Linked DNA regions of Homo sapiens: region 1 is linked to region 2. Evidence: promoter capture Hi-C in 16 types of primary human blood cells and fetal thymus (Javierre and others, 2016). All regions are on one chromosome and are shown on one strand. Each heading gives the region's core, a stretch centred on a gene start or on the middle of the fragment in contact. The rest is flanking DNA. Distances are from core to core; before and after follow the strand shown.

The links. Contacts are between HindIII fragments. The CHiCAGO score rates a contact against its expected background, and 5 or more counts as called.
Region 1: a fragment that was not itself captured here is called in contact with the fragment with the promoter of ADGRE1 in region 2 in 1 of 17 cell types (naive B cells); the score reaches 5.8 in naive B cells.

The regions. Positions count from the first base shown.
Region 1 is chr19:6,146,396-6,150,567 of GRCh38, forward strand. It overlaps ACSBG2 (acyl-CoA synthetase bubblegum family member 2), which reads left to right. Exons shown (of 15, transcript NM_030924.5): 3 at 1,051-1,280. LOC105372255 (a long non-coding RNA gene) reads right to left here. Exons shown (of 4, transcript NR_187772.1): 3 at 1,836-1,934. Among named protein-coding and RNA genes, the nearest start is that of ACSBG2, 13 kb to the left of the region's middle. The HindIII fragment of the contact is 930 bases long and covers 895-1,824 here.
Region 2 is chr19:6,885,014-6,889,640 of GRCh38, forward strand. It overlaps ADGRE1 (adhesion G protein-coupled receptor E1), which reads left to right and starts at 2,566. Exons shown (of 21, transcript NM_001974.5): 1 at 2,566-2,626. The coding sequence starts at 2,596. RefSeq lists an enhancer at 2,560-2,619. The HindIII fragment of the contact is 2,856 bases long and covers 327-3,182 here.

The sequences.
Region 1 (4,172 bases), core at 110-2,609, 740 kb before region 2:
GGAGGTGTAGGTCGGGGTGAGCCAAGATCACGCCACTGCACTCCAGCCTGGGCAAAAGAGTGAGACTCCGTCTCAAAAAATAATAATAGGCCAGGCGCGGTGGCTCATGCCTGTAATCCCAGCACTTTGGGAGGCCAAGGCGGGCGGATCACCTGAAGTCGGGAGTTCGAGACCAGCCTGACCAACATGGAGAAACTCCATCTCTACTAAAAATATAAAATTAGCGAGGCGTGGTGGTGCATGCCTGTAATCCCAGCTACTCGGGAGGCTGAGGCAGGAAAAACGCTTGAACCCGGGAGGCGGAGGTTGCAGTGAGCCAAGATCGTGCCATTGTACTCCAACCTGGGCAAGAAAAGCAAAGCTCCGTCTCAAAAACAAAAACAAAACAAAACAAAATAATAATAAAAAAAATAAGATGGGGCCAGGTGCGGTGGCTCATGCCTGTAATCCCAGCACTTTGAGAAACTAAGGGAGGAGGATTGTTTGAGCCCAGGAGTTTGAGATCAGCCTCGGAAACACAGTAGAACCCCATCTCTACAAAACATTAAAAAATAAATTAGCTAGGCATGGTGGTGTTTGCCTGTAGTTCCAGTTATTTGGGAGGCTGAGGTGGGAGGATGGCTTGAGCCTAGGAGGTCAAGGTTGCAGTGAGCTGTGATTGTGCCAGTGCACTCCAGCCTGCTGACAGAGCAAGACCGTGTCTCCAGAAAAAAAGAAAGAAAGAAAAAAAAAATGGACATAACAAAGACAGCAGGATAGATGTGTGATAAAATATGGTAAAACGCTAGCAGTTGTAGAATCTAGGTGTTGGATAAGAAAGTATTTGGTATACAATCCTTTTGACTATTAAAATTTGGCGGGGCGGGGAATGAAAAAATAAATAAAGAGAAAGGAAGCTTGTCTTGCCAGTGTTGACCACATAACTTCACCCTAGAAGGGGATTAATTCAACTCTCAGCACCTTAGGTCCAAAAAGACACCAACCGCCCCCCGTCCAAAGTTATTAAATAAATAAAAACATTTGCCACCCAACTCTGGTGACTATTTGCAGTTACTCCCAGGCTGTGGACCACCTGTCGAGATGGAGAAGTCCTTCTGAGGCTATCCAAACACGGACCAGGCCATGAGACCCCGATGACCATCCCTGAATTTTTTCGAGAGTCAGTCAACCGATTTGGAACTTATCCAGCCCTCGCATCCAAGAATGGCAAAAAGTGGGAAATTCTGAATTTCAACCAGTACTATGAGGCTTGTCGGAAGGCTGCAAAATCCTTGATCAAGGTAAGATTCATTCATTCATTCTCCTTTGTTCAACCATTCATTCTGAATAGGTAACAGACATACATACATGTGGTACAAAATTCACAAGGCACCAAAAGATACAAAGGTTAATTGGCGAAAATTTCCCTCTGATTCATGAGCCTCAGCCACTCAGTTCCTCTCTGTGGAAGCGGTCACCATTGTCAGTTTTTTGTGTGTCCTTTTGGGAAATAAATTATGCATAAATATAAAATGAAATTTTTATATATGCAAATTTTTTACACACATAATAGCCTACTACACCCATGGTTCTGCATCTTGCATTTGTCCCTAACATACTATCTCTATGTTTTTGTTAGTTGCTGCTGCATAACAAATTATCCCAAAATATAGTGACTTGAAATGACAAACATTTATCATCTCACAGTTTCTGTGGATTGAGAATTTAGGAGCTACTTTGAAATTGGGTTCTTCTGGCTCCAGGTCTCTCATGAGGTTGCAGCCAAGCTATCAGCTGGGGCTATCTCATCTGAAGGCTCAACTGGGGCTGGAGGCTTCACTTCCAAGCTTACTTACCTAGATGACTGGTTGTTGGCAGGAAGTCTCAGCTCCTCATTCCATGGCCTTCTCCACAGAATTGCTTGAGTGTCTTCACGGCATGGTTGCCAGTCACCCCTAGAATGAATGAAGCAAAAGAAAGAGGGAACAAGGCTGGGGTCAGTGGCTCATGTCTGTAATCCTAGTGCTTTGGGACATCGAGGCAGGAGGATCACTGAGCCCAGGAGTTCAAGACCAGCCTGGGTAACATAGTGAGACCCCAGTCTCAATGAAAAATTTAAAAAGTAGCCAGATGCAGTGGCACATGCCTGTAGTCCCAGCTATCAGGAGGCTGAGGTGGGAGGATCACTTGAGCCTCGGAGGTCGAGGCTGCAATGACCTGTGATTGCACCATTGCACTCTAGCTGGGCAACAGAGTGAGATGGTGTCATAAAGAAAAAAAAAAAAAAAGAGAACCATGTGCTTGGGCTGGGTTTCTTCTTGGGGGCCCCACCTTCATACTATGTTGCTGTGGCTAGTTCATCTCTCCTGAAAGATGGTCTCCTTTAGCCATGTTCTTAGTTCCGTGGAGTTAAAGGTCCCCCTCCTCCCGTAAATCTTGGACACCTGACTGAGCACGGTGGCTCATGCCTGTAATCCCAGCACTTTGGGAGGCCAAGGTGGGCGGATCAAGGTCAAGAGGTCAAGAGTTTGAGACCAGCCTGGCCCACATGGTGAAACCCCATCTACACTAAAAATACAAAAATTAGCCAGGTGTGGTGGTGCACACCTGTAATCCCAGCTACTCAGGAAGCTGAGGCAGGAGAATCGCTTGAACCCGGGAGGCAGAGGTTGCAGTGAGCCGAGATTGTGCCACTGCACTCCAGCCTGGGTGAAACTCCATCTCAAAAAACAAACAAACAAACAAAACTTGGAGACCGAAGTAGAAACAAAACCAAAAATAAAAACAAACAAAACTACTTGGAGACCCAAGTAGAAATTAGTCGGTGTAACTAGGCATTAATAAAAACACACTCTGTCCACAATAAAGCCAGCCTTTTGGTTACTGAAATACTTGGCATCTCATTCTGAAGGACCAGCAGGCAAATGCCTTCCAAATGGTTCCTTTTCCCCCAAGAACAGCAGATCATTGCCAGCCGTGATCCCGTATGACTAAAAGAGCCAACAACGTTGGTTGGCAGTACCCAGAACAAAGAGGGAGTTTTCCCCTAAGGATGCTCACTTTTGTTTCTGAGTTTCCTGGTTCATTCTCACCCACATTCAGAACAAGTCTGTACCTTTACATGTGCAACTTTTTTTTTTTTTTTTTTTTTTAGACAGAGTCTCACTCTGTTGCCCAGGCTGGAGTGCAGTGGCACGATCTTGGCTCACTGCAGCCTCAGCCTCCAGGTTCAAGCAATTCTCCTGCCTCAGCTTCCCAAGTAGCTGGGACTACAGGCAGGTGCTGCCACGCCCGGCTAATTTTTTGTATATTTAGTAGAGACGGGGTTTCATCTTGTGGGCCAGGCTGGTCTCGAACTTCTGACCTGAAGAGATCCACGTGCCTTGGCCTCCCAAAGTGCTGGGATTACAGGTGTGAGCCACCACACCTGGCCTCAAGAGATCCACCCACCTCGGCCTCCCAAAGTGCTGGGATTACAGGCGTGAGCCACCACACCTGGCCTCAAGAGATCCACCTACCTCGGCCTCCCAAAGTGCTGGGATTACAGGCGTGAGCCACCACGCCTGTAATTTTTTTTAAATTAGACTCAGTGGAGCAGGCCCATAGTCCCAGCTACTCGGGAGGGTGAGGCGGGAGGATTGCTGGAGCCTGGGAAGTTGAAGCTGCAGTGAGCTATGATCACCCACTGCACTCCAGCCTGGGTGACAGAGCGAGACAAAAAATAATAATAATAAAATAAAATAAAATAAAATAAATTCACACCTTTCAAGATAGCTATTCTTTAAAAAATAGCAAAACACAACACGTGTTGGGGAGGATATGGAGAAGCTGGAACCCTTGTGCAGTGCTGGTGGAAATGTAAAATGGTGCCGCCACTGTGGAAAAGTCTGGCGATTTCTAAAAAAAGAAAAAATGTAAACAGAGAATTGCCATATGATTCAGCAGTCTCACTCCTGGATATTTAACAAAAAAAAAAAAAAAAAAGGAAAGCCAGAGACATGAAGAGTTATTTGTAGACTCAGGGTCATAGCGGCGTTATTCACAAGAGACAGAGGGTGGAAGCAGCCCGTGTGTCCATCAATGGAAGAATGGATAAACACGATGTGGTCCGCCCATACAAGGGAATATGATTCAGCCACAAAAAGGAAGGAAATTCTGACACATGCTACAACATGGATGAATCTTGAGGACAT
Region 2 (4,627 bases), core at 1,316-3,815:
CTCAGGCTGGAGTACAGCGGCACAATCTCGGCTCACTGCAAGCTCCGCCTCCCGGATTCAAGCAATTCTCCTGCCTCAGCCTCCCGAGTAGCTGGGATTACAGGCGCATGCCACCATGCCCGGCTAATTTTTGTATTTTTAGTGGAGACGGGGTTTCACCATGTTGGTCAGGCTGGTCTCAAACTCCTGACCTTGTGATCCACCCGCCTCGGCCTCCCAAAGCGCTGGAATTACAGGCGTGAGCCACCGCGCCCGGCCAAATAATTTCTTTTCTAAAAAAGAGCAGTCTGAAAAATCAGCCGGCAGACATAGAAAAGCAAGCTGGAAGCTTGCTCGGGTGAATGCCGGCAGCTGTGCCAATGGGAATAGGCTACCTGGGTGCCAGGCGTGTTCAACATGCAGGCTTGCTCCATGTTCCCTTTTCTTTATCAACCACGTGTACGGTAAAGGAACAGGCAACATGGTCCTGGCCAGGTAGAGACCCCATCTGCATAATAAAATATTAGGGTGGGCAGCCAGCTTCTTTGTACTCTATGTAAACGGCACACCTGGTCCAACTAATCTTTGGGCCCTTATGTAAATCAGATATCACCACCTAAAGCTCATCTATAAAACCCCGTGCATTTCACCATGAAACTGGAAGACCCACTTGGGAGCCCCCTCTCTTTGCAGGAGAGAGAGCTTTTCTCTTTCTCTCGCCTATTAAATTTCTTTTCTTTCTTTCTTTTTTTTTTTTTTTTTGAGATGGAGTCTTGCTCTGTCACCCAGGCTGGAGTTCAATGGCACAATCTCGGCTCACTGCAACCTCTGCTTCCCGGGTTCAAGCGATTCTCTTGCCTCAGCCTCCTGAGTAGCTGGAATTACAGGCATGAGCCACCACACCTGGCTAATTTTTGTATTTTTAGTAGAGATGGGGTTTCACTATGTTGCCCAGGCTGGTCTCAAACTCCTGATCTTAGGTGATCCACCCGTCTCAGCCTCCCAAAGTGCTGGGATTACAGGCATGAGCCACTGTGCTCGGCCTAAACCTCTGCTCTAAAAGTAATTTTTTGTGTGTCTGCATTTTATTTTATTTTATTTTATTTTATTTTATTTTATTTTATTTTATTTTATTTTAAGACAGAGTCCCACTCTGTTGCCTAGGCTGGAGTGCAGTGGCACGATCTCGGCTCACTGCAGCCTCCGCCTCCTGGGTTCAAGCAATTCTCTGCCTCAGCCTCCGGAGTAGCTGGGATTACAGGTGCCTAACACCATACCACACTGGCTGATTTTTTGTATTTTTAGTAAAGACGGGGTTTCCCCATCTTGGCCAGGCTGGTCTTGAACTCCTGACCTCGTAATCCACCCTCCTCAGTCTCCCAAAGTGCTGAGATTACAGGTGTGAGCCACGGTGCCCGGCCATGTCTGTATTTTCTATTTCCTTGGTGTGAGGCAATGAACCTCGGGTATTACCCCAGATGGATGACACTGCTTCAATATCTGCCAGTCACTACACTTTGTTATCAGTGGGATTACATCAACTGGAGCCCATTCTATCTGCTTGGAGGCCAGGCCTGAAGATTCAAGGGGTTGACACCCTCTAGGAGCAAGCCTCAAGTCAACCCATGACTGACAGTAGGTGGGATATAAATACCTCAGCTCCCTCACCCCTCGGTTGGAATAACTGAAGAGTATGTTCCATGCCGCTCCCCAGTCATCCCTGGGGAGGTTAAGTTCCACTTTCTCACCATGTAACTTATTTGAAGACACACCCAGTATTGGCTCTTTGCCTTTCCTGATTCACTTTCTCCTCCCCCAGCTGGTGCTTTCTGGGGCCACCTTCTTGATAAACTACTTTTGCTAGAATCCTTGTCTGAGGGTCTGCCCTTGTGAGACCCTAAGATGTTACCAGAGAGAGTTAGGAAGCTGGGAATGGGGTGGAAGTGTTGCTGTATAATCGTCAGACAGAGTTGAGATCTGAAGGAAAATAAGATGGTTAAAGCTCTTGACTCTGGAATCAGAGGGTCCTGGGTTCAAATCTCAAGTCTGAGAGATCTTGGACAAGTTATAACTCCTCTGCAAGTCTCAGTTTCCATTTTGTTGGTGAATAGAGGGAGGGAGGGGAATTCCTACTTTACAAGGTTAACATGATAATGAAATTACACTTTGTTGCCAATGTGCCTAGCACACTGCCTGGTACATGATGGTTGTGATGGCTGTCTTTATACGGGAGACTGGGAAGAGACCCTAAAGGCTGAGATTTGCTTCACTGGAGGCAGGAAGCGGAAGCTCCTTTATTGGGTGCAATGAAAGAAGGTGTTGAGAGATGGGAGATAGATGTTGATGGGAAAGAAAAAGGGAGAGACCATGGGAAGGAGAGAGAGAGAGAATGATATACATTAGGCAGATTAACTTCTCTTTATTGTGAAGAAAGGGGGAAATTAGGATTTTCTAGGCTGTCTTTTAGTTGCAGCAAGTCAGCAAAAAGGGCTATGATGACCAGGCAGCATTGAGCAACTCTGACTCCGCCTTCCCCTCTTCGCACACCTTCTGGTTACTGAAAACCCAGCGTTAGTAGAAAAGTTTCTTTTCTTTGAATGACAGAACTACAGCATAATGCGTGGCTTCAACCTGCTCCTCTTCTGGGGTGAGTGTGAGGCTGAATGGGGGGCTAGGGGAGGCCTGGATTGGAAATAGACTTCAGGAGAAATGGGAGGGCCATGGATGGTCCAGCCAAGAGATCATAAGTCCAGACTGGATGCTGCAAACACCTTCATTCAGGGAACCTTTGACAAAATTCCATAGCTCAGGGAAGTCCATCTGTTAGGATAGATTTTTCTCTATAGTCATTCATTTGACCTGAGCAAGTCCTGTGTGTCAGGTGCTGTTCTAGGCACTAGAGGATATAGCAGTGAGAAAAAAAGACTAAGTTCCTGCACTCTTGAGGCTGATATTCTAGTGGGTAGGAGCAGACAGGAAAGAAGGCACAGATGATCATAGCCCACTTAGCACTGCTGTAACTTCTTTAAACATAGAGTGTATCCAATTGTCACAACATTTCTATGACATTGGGTCATTATTAGTCCTATTTTGCAAATGAGAAAACTGAGGCAAAAGAGATAAAATAATTTTCCCAAGGCCACTTAGTCAATAAGGGGTAGAGGCAGGATTTCAAGCCAGACAGTCTGACTTCAGAGTCTGTAAGCTTTTCCACTATACTATGTTGCCCCAAAAAATAAGTAAACATAGGAATTTCAGGTAGTGATAAGTGCTATGAAAGAAGTTGTTATAGAATGTGGTCGGGAGTTATGTTGAAGGGAGAAGTCTGGGGTTGAGGAGGGGCAGTTCGAGCTGAGTCCTGAAGGATGAGATAGACCCTTCCTGTGCTCTTATTTCTCTTTCTTCAGGTGTCAGTTTGTCTCAGCCTTGTTTATCTTCTGTGTTTCTGGTTTTTCTTCTATGTCTTGTGTGTTTTGGTCATTGGATCAAATTTAAGAATGGAGGATATTGGGGACATATTCTAAGTAGCAAGTATGGGTTTCCTCTGCTGTTGAAGAGTGGATCTGAATACCCTATTTTACCAAGGAGGAAACTGAGGCACAAAGAGATTAAATAACTTCCTCAAGGCCACGCAATCATTAATTGGTGAAGCCAGATTTTTAAACCTAAGCACTTTGACTTCAGACTTTGTATGCCTAAACAGCATGCTGAATTACCTCTAAAATAATTAATGAATGAGTAGAAGAATTTTTGTTAGTAATAATAGATAGAATTTGGGAGTTTAGATCTGTGGGACTTGTTGACTGGCAGGCTACATTAGAAGAAATAGGTGGCCTGTGGACATCAAATGTAGGCATGCAGAGTTGTTATTTTGGGGTGTTGGCAATGGTATTAACCATTAACACTCCCTATTCTGCCCTGAAGATAATCAGCAAAGAGTTGTGATAATGATAGTGATGATAATGATCATGATGGTGGTGGTTATAATAGTGATGATGAAAATGGTGATGATGATGGTGATGGTGATGATGATGATGATGATAATGGTGATGATAGTGATAATGAAGATGATGGTGATGATGATGGTGTGATAATGACCATGAAGATGGTGATGATGGTGATGATGATAATGGTGATGATAGGGATAATGATGATGATGGTGGTGATGATGGTGTGATAATGACGATGAAGATGGTGATGTTGGTGATTATGGTGGTGATGATGATGATGGTGGTGATGGTGATAATGGTGATGGTGATGATGATAATGGTGATGATGGTGATAATAATGATGATGATGATGGTGATGATGAAGATGATGATGGTGATGATGATAGTGATAATGATGGCGATAATGATGATGGTGCAGGAGACCTAAATGCTGCAGGGCTGCATTGCCTTTAAACACTAAAAAATGGGCAGGGCGCAGTGGCTCACGCTTGTAATCCCAGCACTTTAGGAGGCTGAGGCAGGCAGATCATGAGGTCAGGAGATCGAGACCATCCTGGCCAACATGGAGAAACCCCGTTTCTACTAAAAATGCAAAAATTAGCTGGGCGTGGTGGTGCGTGCTTGTAATCCCAGCTACTCGGGAGGCTGAGGCAGGAGAATAGCTTGAACCAGGGAGTTGGTGGTTGCAGTGAGCCTAG